2 separate regions of the Homo sapiens genome follow, and region 2 is linked to region 1. Evidence: promoter capture Hi-C in 16 types of primary human blood cells and fetal thymus (Javierre and others, 2016). All regions are on one chromosome and are shown on one strand. Each heading gives the region's core, a stretch centred on a gene start or on the middle of the fragment in contact. The rest is flanking DNA. Distances are from core to core; before and after follow the strand shown. Region 1 holds the start of RCN2 (reticulocalbin 2). Region 2 has its middle 71 kb from the start of HMG20A.

Region 1 (5,042 bases), core at 934-3,433:
AGCAGAGTCCAGATTCAAACCTGTCTGGCTTCAAAGCCAACTCCTACTGAGTTTTGCTACCTCTTAACATCTGATTCCAGACCTGGCCCTCAAAGAGCAAATTGCCAAAATTATCTTAAGGGTCCTCAAGTAGAATGAAGGCTTTCGTAAGCACCATGAATCTTTCTTCTAGTTTATTTAAAGAGATCACCATGGCATAGAAGAAAACAGAATGGAACAGGGATCAGAAATGTGGGTTCACACTTCAGCTTTGCCATCAGGGGGTAGTTTACCATCTCAAGCTTTTCTTCTCATCTGTATAATGAATATTTGGACTAAAACTTTTCTAAGTTTAAACTTCTTAAAACCTTACTATTAAATATTTGAACATATCTAGGTCTTGACAGATAGGTACCACGCAGTCTTCCAAATCAACGTGTTGTGTTCTTTGATTACTCTAGTATAACCAAAGATTGACTTATTCTTAGATTGGATAATCAGAGACCAAAGGTCTTGTTATTATTGTCTAACTAAGTGGAAGAAAAAAGCCCTTAATCTTCCAGAGGGTTCCAATGTGAATATGTCATTGACAGCACATCTTAAATTTACCAGTTTTTAATTGTCTCCAGCAACTTAATTCCTTGATGGTGAACAGCATTTAAATGAGAGTTACAGAAAAACAGCTAACTTAAGAGTCACAATAACAACCTGAATTTTTCTGAGGACCCACTTGGAACGCTGACAGGGAACATCATTTGAATTGAACAATGGGGAGAGACAACTGCACAGCAATTTATTTAGAACATTCTTTTAATAGTCTGTGCATTTCATTTCTGACTAGAGAATTTACCTGAGAGCATCAGATTTTTTTTTTTAACTGAAGGATATTAAAACCTGAATTAAGAGCAGGATACCTGGATTCTAGTCCAGCTTTGCCACTTATTTGTAGAAGGCACTTATCCCTGTGCTTCATTTCTTCATCTCTACAAAGTGATGTGGACAAGATGATCCCAAGGCCCCTACCAGCTCTAACATTTTGGTATAATGTTATAATAAACGTAATTCACAGGCAACAGGTCTTTTTCTACTTGCTTAAAAAAAGAAGCAAATTCCTAAAATTTAAATGAAGCATATATCAAAAGAGCGATAAATCATTTACTGCCTTAAAGTTTTGGGGCATATTTCTCTAAAATAAATCATATTGTTGACACTAACAAAAGTCACGTGAGAAAGAGGGTGTCTCAAGGTGTGACTTCCACATAGAGTACAGGGTCAATGATGTTTATATATAACTGGAGAAAGCACCGAGTTTTACTTGGTTCTCAGTGTCTAAAGATTTGTAAGTATAAAGCCTATTCTCCATGTCCTTTTCTCCTTCTCACAGGACTTCCAACTTGGGACACTAGCAATCTATACATTCAGCAGACACCGCTGCTTAACATATTTGTGTTTGTCTCCATTGTTAGTCGTGTAGGGCAGTCCTTACTTTCAGTGAGAAAGCCATCTGAGTCCAAGTCGATTTTCTTTATGATCGCCTGCAGTCTTTTTTGCTGCTCTTCGTGGCCGAGTTTAACATATTCATCCACATCTTCCTTTAGGGGGAAGCGACACACAGGAGGGCCAAGCATTACTATCAGTGGGGCAAAATGGTGGAGAAAAACAGGGCTACTAGAAGACCCCCTTGCCAAAGGGTTTCGGGGTGACCCGCACCTGCACTTCAAGGCCCCTACCCCCTACACACCCTCCATGATCTGAGGGGTAGAAGGGATCCAGCTCTTGGGCCGTGCTATCTCCTCAGGCTTTCCAGGCCCCAGGACCCCCAGAGAGCGAGTGCCGCGCCGCCCGGCCCCCATTGTCAGGCCGCCCCTGCCAGGCCTCGCCCGGCCGCCCCCCTTTGTCCCGGGACAAAGCCCGCGGCAGCCGCGGTGCGAGGCCCGGCCCTCCCAGCACCGGCCTGGCCGCCTCACCTGGACGCCCAGCAGCGCCTCGCGGTCGTAGTCGCTGCGGCGCTCGCCCAGCGGGTAGTGCAGCTCCTCGGCCTTGCCGGCGCCGGCCGCGGCGGCGCACAGCAGCAGCAGCCCCAACGCCGCGGTCCTCGGGCCCAGCCGCATCGCGCCGGCCCGCGGAGGACACCGAGGGACGCGAGGAGGGAGGCTGGCGGGGGCCCGGGCCGGCTGCGATGCTCCGCGGGCGGCTACAGAGAGGCGGTGCGACGTACGTTGAGGGCGGAGGGAACGGGAGGCGGAACCTGCGGTGGCGGCCACAACGCCCATGGACGGGCTGGGGGCCGGTCCACCAATGCGGTGCGGAGGCGCGCCAGGAGGAGGCCTATATGGCCGGCGCGGAGTGGCGGGGCACCAGGCCGCGCCGCTGATTGGGCAGCGCGGCGCTGGGGGCGGGCCGCCGCGATGTCGGGGTCAGCGGCCGCCCAGAGAGCTCCAGGAGCCATGCTGGGACTGCAGAGAGGGTAGACCTCTACGACCCGCGCCTTGTCGTTCCCCCGAAACGCTTCTAAAAGCACGCCCCCACCCCACTCCTGCCCACTCCTGGTCCACTCCATGTGCCCCTCCTACCGTCCATCAATGAGAGAGGCTGGAGGTTTCTGAGACAACAATACAATATCGAAAAAATTATTGCCTGAGGAATCGGCCAACAGTATTCTTTCTCAGTCTTCAATGTATCTATTTTATGAGAGTAGGACGTACAAACTCAGGAAGTGCAGCCAGATGCTTGTATCTGATGCTCAATTTCGTGATTTACAAGTTAATGTGAACTTGCTCAAATTTCTTGACCCCTGAAAACTTGTTTGCTCATCTATAAAATGAGCATAGTAATAAGACTACCTTAAAGAATTGTCGTGAAGATTAAATAATGTAATGGGTTTAGAACAATAGCTGGCACATAAGGTGAAGTGTTCAGTGAAGGTAGGCTTTCATCCATACAAGTAGAAAAACGAAAGATGATTGCACAGAAGGAATAGCTTAGTAAGTACCTAGCAAAACCTTTAGGGACAGAATGCATATACACATGGCTTCTATTCCATGTCTATTCACAGGTTTATGTAATTTCTCCACCTCAACCTGAACACATTAAACTCTAAGAAATTTGTAGGCTGCACCTTGAACCCTTTTCTTTATTGATTGCGCCACTTAGGATCAGGCCTTTCACAGAGAAGAAAAGGCTTTCTGGGTCCTCTTTCATTTCTCTCAGTCTCTATTTGGATTGGGAGCAAGAATTCTGTTCCAAACTGCAAAACTGGGTGGGCACAAGTCGCAGAAATTTCCTGGGTCGGGTTGAAATTTATGGTTTGGTCACAAACCATTGAAAGATTCACAGAGCAAAGTGTAAGTTCAATCTTTCCAATGTTATAAAGATCAACGAAGAACAAAGTTTTAAATTTCAGAATATAAATAAAAGCAAATTTTAGAGTTGATTTCATTAAACTAAAAAGAAAACCCTTTATTGCTGGATTTTAATTTTCACTTCCATTCTCGGTTTTGAGGAAAAAAAGAGAAAAATGTCCCAATTTAATATAAGAAACTCTGCTTTGTACCTGTTGTTCTCCAATAAGTAAAAGGTAAACTTTGACCAGCTTCCGGCGTGACTCCAGTTATAAAAGGTAGGCTACAAGGTACTGTGGAAGTTCTTCTAAACTCAGGGGATCCACAGATGGGAGTTTTGGGGGCCAAGGGAACTTAATGATATCTAAAGAGACAGTGGAGTAAGCAGTATCAGAAGGCTGGGTTCTGTCTTCAGCCCCTAAACAGGCTGTTTTCGCTCCCTGGGTCTATTGCTTTCATCTGGAGGAAAAGGATTGTGTTATCTCAGTGGATCTTAATTTGAGATCTTTGGGTTCCTAAGTGGTCCCTGCATGGTTTTCAGTGGTGTGTTTATCCCAAAATCTTGGTGCATGTGTATATTTCCAGGGAGGAAGTCTATAGCTTTGCTTTTATCAGAGTTTCAAAGGATCCATGTGGCAGAAAAAGTTAAGAGTCCCTGAAGAAGGCTCTGAGCAACTTTTTGACTCTTAAAATCAACGATTTTATTGGGATTGTTTGGAAGCAGATTACAGTAAAGGCCTATGCTTAAAAGAGGCAAGACTGATCCAATGTCATTACTTGTAATTAATCCATTCTACTCGGGGAAAAATAAATATCTAAAATAAGTAGCCTGTTTAAAAAAATGTGTTATGAGAATCCAAAGATCAATTTTCTTGACCTATAAAAGCCCATAGCATATAGCAAAATTGGTTTTATTTATATTTTTATTGAGGTATAATTTACCTAAAGTACACAAATGTTAAGTATACAGTTCAATCATTTTTTTAGATTTGTTTGCTGTGAGAGCCTTGAGGTAGGGAACTGTGTGATTTCTCCTAGTGCACCTACAAAAAAGAGGAACTCAATAAATTTTTGTGAAATGTATGAATTCAGCTATTCTGGCATTCTTTTAGAAGTATGTATTATGGGTAATAAAGTTAACTTTGAAACTATTGAAAGAAAGATTTGTAGATTTCTTGCTTTTTGAATTTGGTAAGATGTGTGTTACAATAAGCAGTGGCTTAAAAAACAAAGCAATATTTAACATATATGGCATGGACCCTTGTGTTACAGGCTGATTTCCACCAGAATGAATGAGATTTGGTACAATAAACAACTTAAGTGGGAAAGCCAACAAACTCAATGAGACTGCAGCTTTGCACAGATGGAAAACACAAGACAAAAGAACAGACTATAAGGCAGTGAATGGGAGAACAACTTAGACTGAATGACCATGCAATTAGGGGGATTTTGTTGGCTGTTTAATCTTTTGTCAGTCTTTTGAGGGGAGAAGGAAATGTGAGAATTCCAGGGTTATGGTGGAGTCTTAGAAGGTGACAAGAACATGTGTAGGTGGGTGGGTGTATTATAATGCCTTAAAAATCTTTTCATTTCCAAGGAGTATCTGAATGTGTAAGTAGTCACAAAATCTTTTAACCTATTAGAAGTACTTTCAAGAAATTCAATGTAACTTTTTCACTGAATAAGATTTCCCTAAATTAAAGATGGATCTGTCCCAATGAT
Region 2 (4,945 bases), core at 319-2,818, 560 kb before region 1:
AGGGCAAAGAATAAAACAGTGAAATCTTTAGCCAGGGGTGGCTGCAGTTGGTAGGGTTTGACTATCTGCCTTCAGAGCAGTGCCAGGATCTGGGAGAAAAGTTCTAATAAAAAAAGTCTCCTTGGAAGTCTTTGGTAAAAGTCATTCCAAGTCCAGGCCCGCCTTTTAAGCTCTAGAATTGTCAATATAAATGCTTACTTAACACCTACATCTGCTGACTTAACACTTGCATCTCAAATAAACATTCCCACAAGGCTGTCTGATTTCCAGCCATTCCCCTGCCCCAGTCTGCTCCTCTTCTAGTCGTTGTCTCTGTAACTGGTATCTGGACCATCCATGTGAAGCACAAGATCACTGTAGGTGCTCTCTCCCTCCTGCCTCCCTCTCATCCGTCACTCATCTTGTTCCTTCCACCACCAAAATGGCTGTATTCCATCCTCTTCCCCACATCATTCTTCACTGCTACACCCTTAGTCCATAATACCACCACCTCTGGAGGGATTATAGCCACAGCCACAATTTAGCTCCCTATTTCAATGCTTCACAGAGTAGTCAGAATAAGTTTTTAAAACCACAAACTAGATGATGTCACTTCCCTTTCTGAAACCTTCAGTGACTTCCCCCTGCACTGAGGAGACTATCCCAGATCCTTGGGCTGGTGATAAGACCGCACATGGCCTCTCTCCTATCTCTTGCTGTTTTTCCCCTACATTTCCCTGCTCCAGGTCCCTGGTTTTCTTTCAGCTCCTCTAAATCCCCAATGAAAGCTGGTTTTTGTGCTCTTTTCCTGACTCTCCCTAAGTCCTACTGGTTTTTCATTTTAAGTGTCACTTCCTTGAAGGGGCCTTCCTTGACCCCACCATCGAAAAAAGTTGCCCACTCCCTGCCAATATGCTGACACACGCTACTACTACTCTTTTCCTGCATTTGATACCACATGGCAACATCACATCTACTTAAGTTTGTTTAATCACGTTTCTTCCACTAGATACTAGGCTCCATGAAAGCAAGAATTGTTACCTGTTTTGCTATATTCCTATTGCCTGCTCCAGAGGGTAATGCATATTAGTTGAACCAAGTAATGAAAGTAGACTGCATATGGAGAGCTGCCTAAAGGGTATTTACACTGCCTTCCTGGTGAACCCGCCCCACCAGACCACAGTTACCCAAAATTCCTCCTTGAAGAATTCCTCACTGAGCTTTGGGAGGAACCAAGTCAAACTCCCAAATGTCTCTAATCTCCTCTGCTCCTTTACTCCATCCCCACTGCATGCTCTTCTTCTTCCTCTTCTTTATTTATTTATTTTCCTTGGAGACAGAGTCTTGCTCTGTCACCCAAGCTGGAGTGCAATGGTATGAACATGGCTCACTGCAGCCACGACTTCCCGGGCTCCAGCAATCCTCCCACCTCAGCCCCCCAAGTATCTTGGAGCCCCATCATGCCTGGCTAATTAAAAATTTTTTTTTTATAGAGATGAGATCTCACCATGTTTCCCAGTCTGGTCTTGAACTTGTGAGCTCATGCAATCCTCCTGCCTCAGCCTCCCAAAAGGTGTGAGCCACCATACCCAGCCCCCGACTGCATGCTCTTCTTACCTTCCATCCTGGCTATTTTAACAGTCTCCTAACCAGTCTATCTCCATACTGCCTTGAATTCAAGAGTATTTATGCTAAGGACCACAATAATGGATGGGGGGAAATTACATTTTGATTTTCACAAACCTCTAATTGAAAATTTGCATTTCTTTTGATTATAAACATTGGCAACAAGCCCCAGTAGTATTGGCAGGACCTGTGACTTTGCCACCAACAAGATCACAGATATTTTCATACTATATTATAGACATTGCAGATGTTGAAATATTATTTATGGTCACTACTACTTTAAAATTATGGTCATTATTAGAACTAGATCATGTTATTTAATGCTTTATCAAGAAGCACAGGTATTCCTACATAACACATTGTTAATATTTTGTTAGCTATATTTTAATATAGTGGATTTCCTTTGTAATTTTATTTGTATTTTATGCACTTAGAAAACATTCCTAGAAGGGTCCATAGACTTTACCAGATTGCCAAAGCAGCTCGTGGCAGAAAAATGGTTGAGAGGCTGTGGTGTAGTTTTCCTTATGTCACTGCCTTGCAAAAACAGCCTTGAGGCCTTCCCTCTGCCTGCAAAACAAAAGCTAAAACCCTTGGCTTGACATTCAAGGCCCATTTACAATCCATTTTCAGAACACCTCACTATCTTTCTTTTTGGTCAGTGCCCTGGATATAACCTGTGTTCCAGTCACGCTGAATTACTTGAGTACACCAAAAATGTACTTCTATCTCTAGGTCTATTTCTAGCTTATCTTAAGGAACTACTCTTTTTCTAAGGCCCAGCTCAAAATGTTATCCTGGTAAAGCTCTTTTGCCTTCCCCCAAGCAAAACCACTGAATTTTTCCTTTGTGTTTTCCAGAATACTGCGCTCACAGCCGTTTGATCATTTATCAGACCCTATTGTAGTTAGCTTTTGTATCTATTTTTTGTTACATTGTGGGCTTCCAGTGGAGAGGGACTTCCTCAACTTTACACCCAAAACACATAGTGAGTACTTGGAAATGCTTGAAAAAATGAATGTATCTAAAATACTCATTCTTCTGAGGGATGAATAAAATCCATAATTACTATATTAGTTTGTCCTTTAAACCAAGAAATTCTTTTGATAAATATAACATAAGTCTACTTCAAAAATCCACCGGCCCCAAGAAAAATAGGTTGTTGTCTTACATTCCAGTGCCTGGACCCAGCTGCCTTCAGTTGACTTCTATCCTTGAAGATAGCAAAAGCACCCCTCACAGGAGCCCATTTGCTGAGTCTTTAAACCTTCTGACTGTATCAGTGATGTCTTCTCACATTACCCTTCTTTGAATGATGCCAAATATATTTTTGACCAGTCTCTTTTAAGCAGACGCTTTCCATTTCTTGCCCCAGGATTTTCTAATGGTCAGGTTATGGCATGATTTTTATATCCTAGAACATTCAGCTGCTTTATGTCAATCTTAAACAAATGCAGATGCAAGTTTTAAAAATTCTTTTCCTAAGAAGCGTCAAGAATTAAAAAGGAGACCATTCCTTAATTTCACAGTTCAACGCACAACGTAACTGGATCTACATGTGTGCACATGCGCTGAGGATAGAAGGAATGTTAGCAAACACTGACCTGAACTTAGAATCTCAAGGAACCACAGACTTTTAGGAACTGAAAGGAACTTTTTAACTGATAGCAGGGAGATGTGTGTCTTGCCCAGGGGCTCATCTGTTGTTGGGACTTCAAGTTTAGCCAGTCAAAAACAAATCCTTGATTTTTCTTCCGTGATGTTTCATACTTAAGTCTGCAATCTCAGGCCATGGCACCTCTCTCCATTACCCAGTTTTCCAAGCCAAAAAAACTGAGTCATTCTTCTTCTTTTTCTTATAGAGATGGGGTTTCACCACGTTGCCCAGGTTGGTCTTGAACTCCTGGGCTCAAGAAATCTACCCGCCTTGGCCTCCCAAAGTACTGGGATTACACGCGTAAGCCACTGTGCCCAGGAAAAACTGAGTCATTCTTCTTTTTCTTTCATTCTCCACATCCCACTCCTCAGCAATTCCTGTCCATTATACTCCCAAACTATATCCTGAATTAATCTGCCTTTTCCCACCACTCTAGGCTAAGCCACTGTCATTTCTCACTTGGGTTCCTATGCCAGCCTTCTCCTAGTCTCTCTGATTCTTCTCTTGCCCACCCCACAATTCTCTATACAGCAGCCAGAGTGACCCTTTATTTTATTTTACTTTTTATTTTTTGAGACAGAGTCTTGCTCTGTTACTCAGGCTGGAGTGCAGTGGCACAATCTTGGCTCACTGCAACCCCCACCTCCTGGGTTCAAGGGATTCTCATGCCTCAGACTCCTGAGTAGCTGGGATTACAGATGCGCGCCACCACGTCCAGCTAATTTTGTTTTGTATTTTTAGTAGAAAAATACAAACATGGTTTCACCATGTTGGCCAGGCTGGTCTCCAACTCCTGGCCTCAAGTGGTCTGCCCACTCCCACCTCTCAAAGTGCTGGGATTACAGGCATGAGCCACCACGCCCGGCCTAGAGTGACCCTTTAAAAACAGAAATCAGATCTTGTCACTCAGTTGTGTAGAACTCTCTTCACATTACACTTATGACAAACTGCAAACTCTTTACGACACTTCTGAGGATCTACATGATCTTGCTATTGCCTGCCTTGCAACTTCAAAGCCACTCTGCCTCTCGTTTACTCTGCTCCAGCCTCACCAGCTTTTTCTATGCCTTGAAATTCCAGAGTTCATTCCTGCCTCAGGATTTCAGCCTTTGTATACCCTCAGCCCTTCACCGGGCTGGCTCCTTCAAATCAATTTTGTCTTTCTTCAGAAGATACTTTTTCAGAAAGGCCTTTCTCTATCCTAGCTTATATCATTTCTTCTTATCTAGGTAATTAGCTGAGATGAGTTTGTTAGGTTACTTGTTTGTAGTCTCTTTTTCCCCAGCAAGGGGAAGAGCTCTATGGGGACTAGGACCCAGAACAATTTCTAACGCAAGAAAGATATTCAACAAATATTGTTGAATAGGTCTAATTCCAGTTCTCAGACCCACCATACCATGCTACGGCTTTGAACTCATGCCACTCTCATTAGTTATCTCTAAGACAGTACGGCTATAGTGGAATGTAAAGCCACAGTTATCTGGATATAAACCATTTCTCTACCTGTTCCCTGTTCTGTAACTGCACAAGTCACTTATCAGATCTGTGTCTTAATTTACTTACTGTAAAAATGAGTACAGTAGTCCTACTCTGTAAAGTTGTGGAATTACATAATTTACATAAAAAGCACAGCAGAGTGGCCTATGGTATATGTCTGTTATTTCTCTTTTCCCTTTAGTCTTC

The links. The method cuts DNA at HindIII sites, captures the fragments that hold promoters and counts their contacts. A CHiCAGO score of 5 or more calls a contact.
Region 2: a contact is called between a fragment that was not itself captured here and the fragment with the promoter of RCN2 in region 1, in 2 of 17 cell types (monocytes and non-activated CD4 T cells). The highest score is 6.0, in monocytes.

The regions. Positions count from the first base shown.
Region 1 is chr15:76,928,890-76,933,931 of GRCh38, reverse strand. RCN2 (reticulocalbin 2) reads right to left here and starts at 2,183. Exons shown (of 7, transcript NM_002902.3): 1 at 1,947-2,183; 2 at 1,466-1,571. The coding sequence starts at 2,090. RefSeq lists a silencer at 1,741-2,490. The HindIII fragment of the contact is 17,303 bases long and covers 284-5,042 here.
Region 2 is chr15:77,489,178-77,494,122 of GRCh38, reverse strand. It overlaps a transcript of HMG20A not described here. Among named protein-coding and RNA genes, the nearest start is that of HMG20A, 71 kb to the right of the region's middle. The HindIII fragment of the contact is 9,764 bases long and covers 1-4,945 here.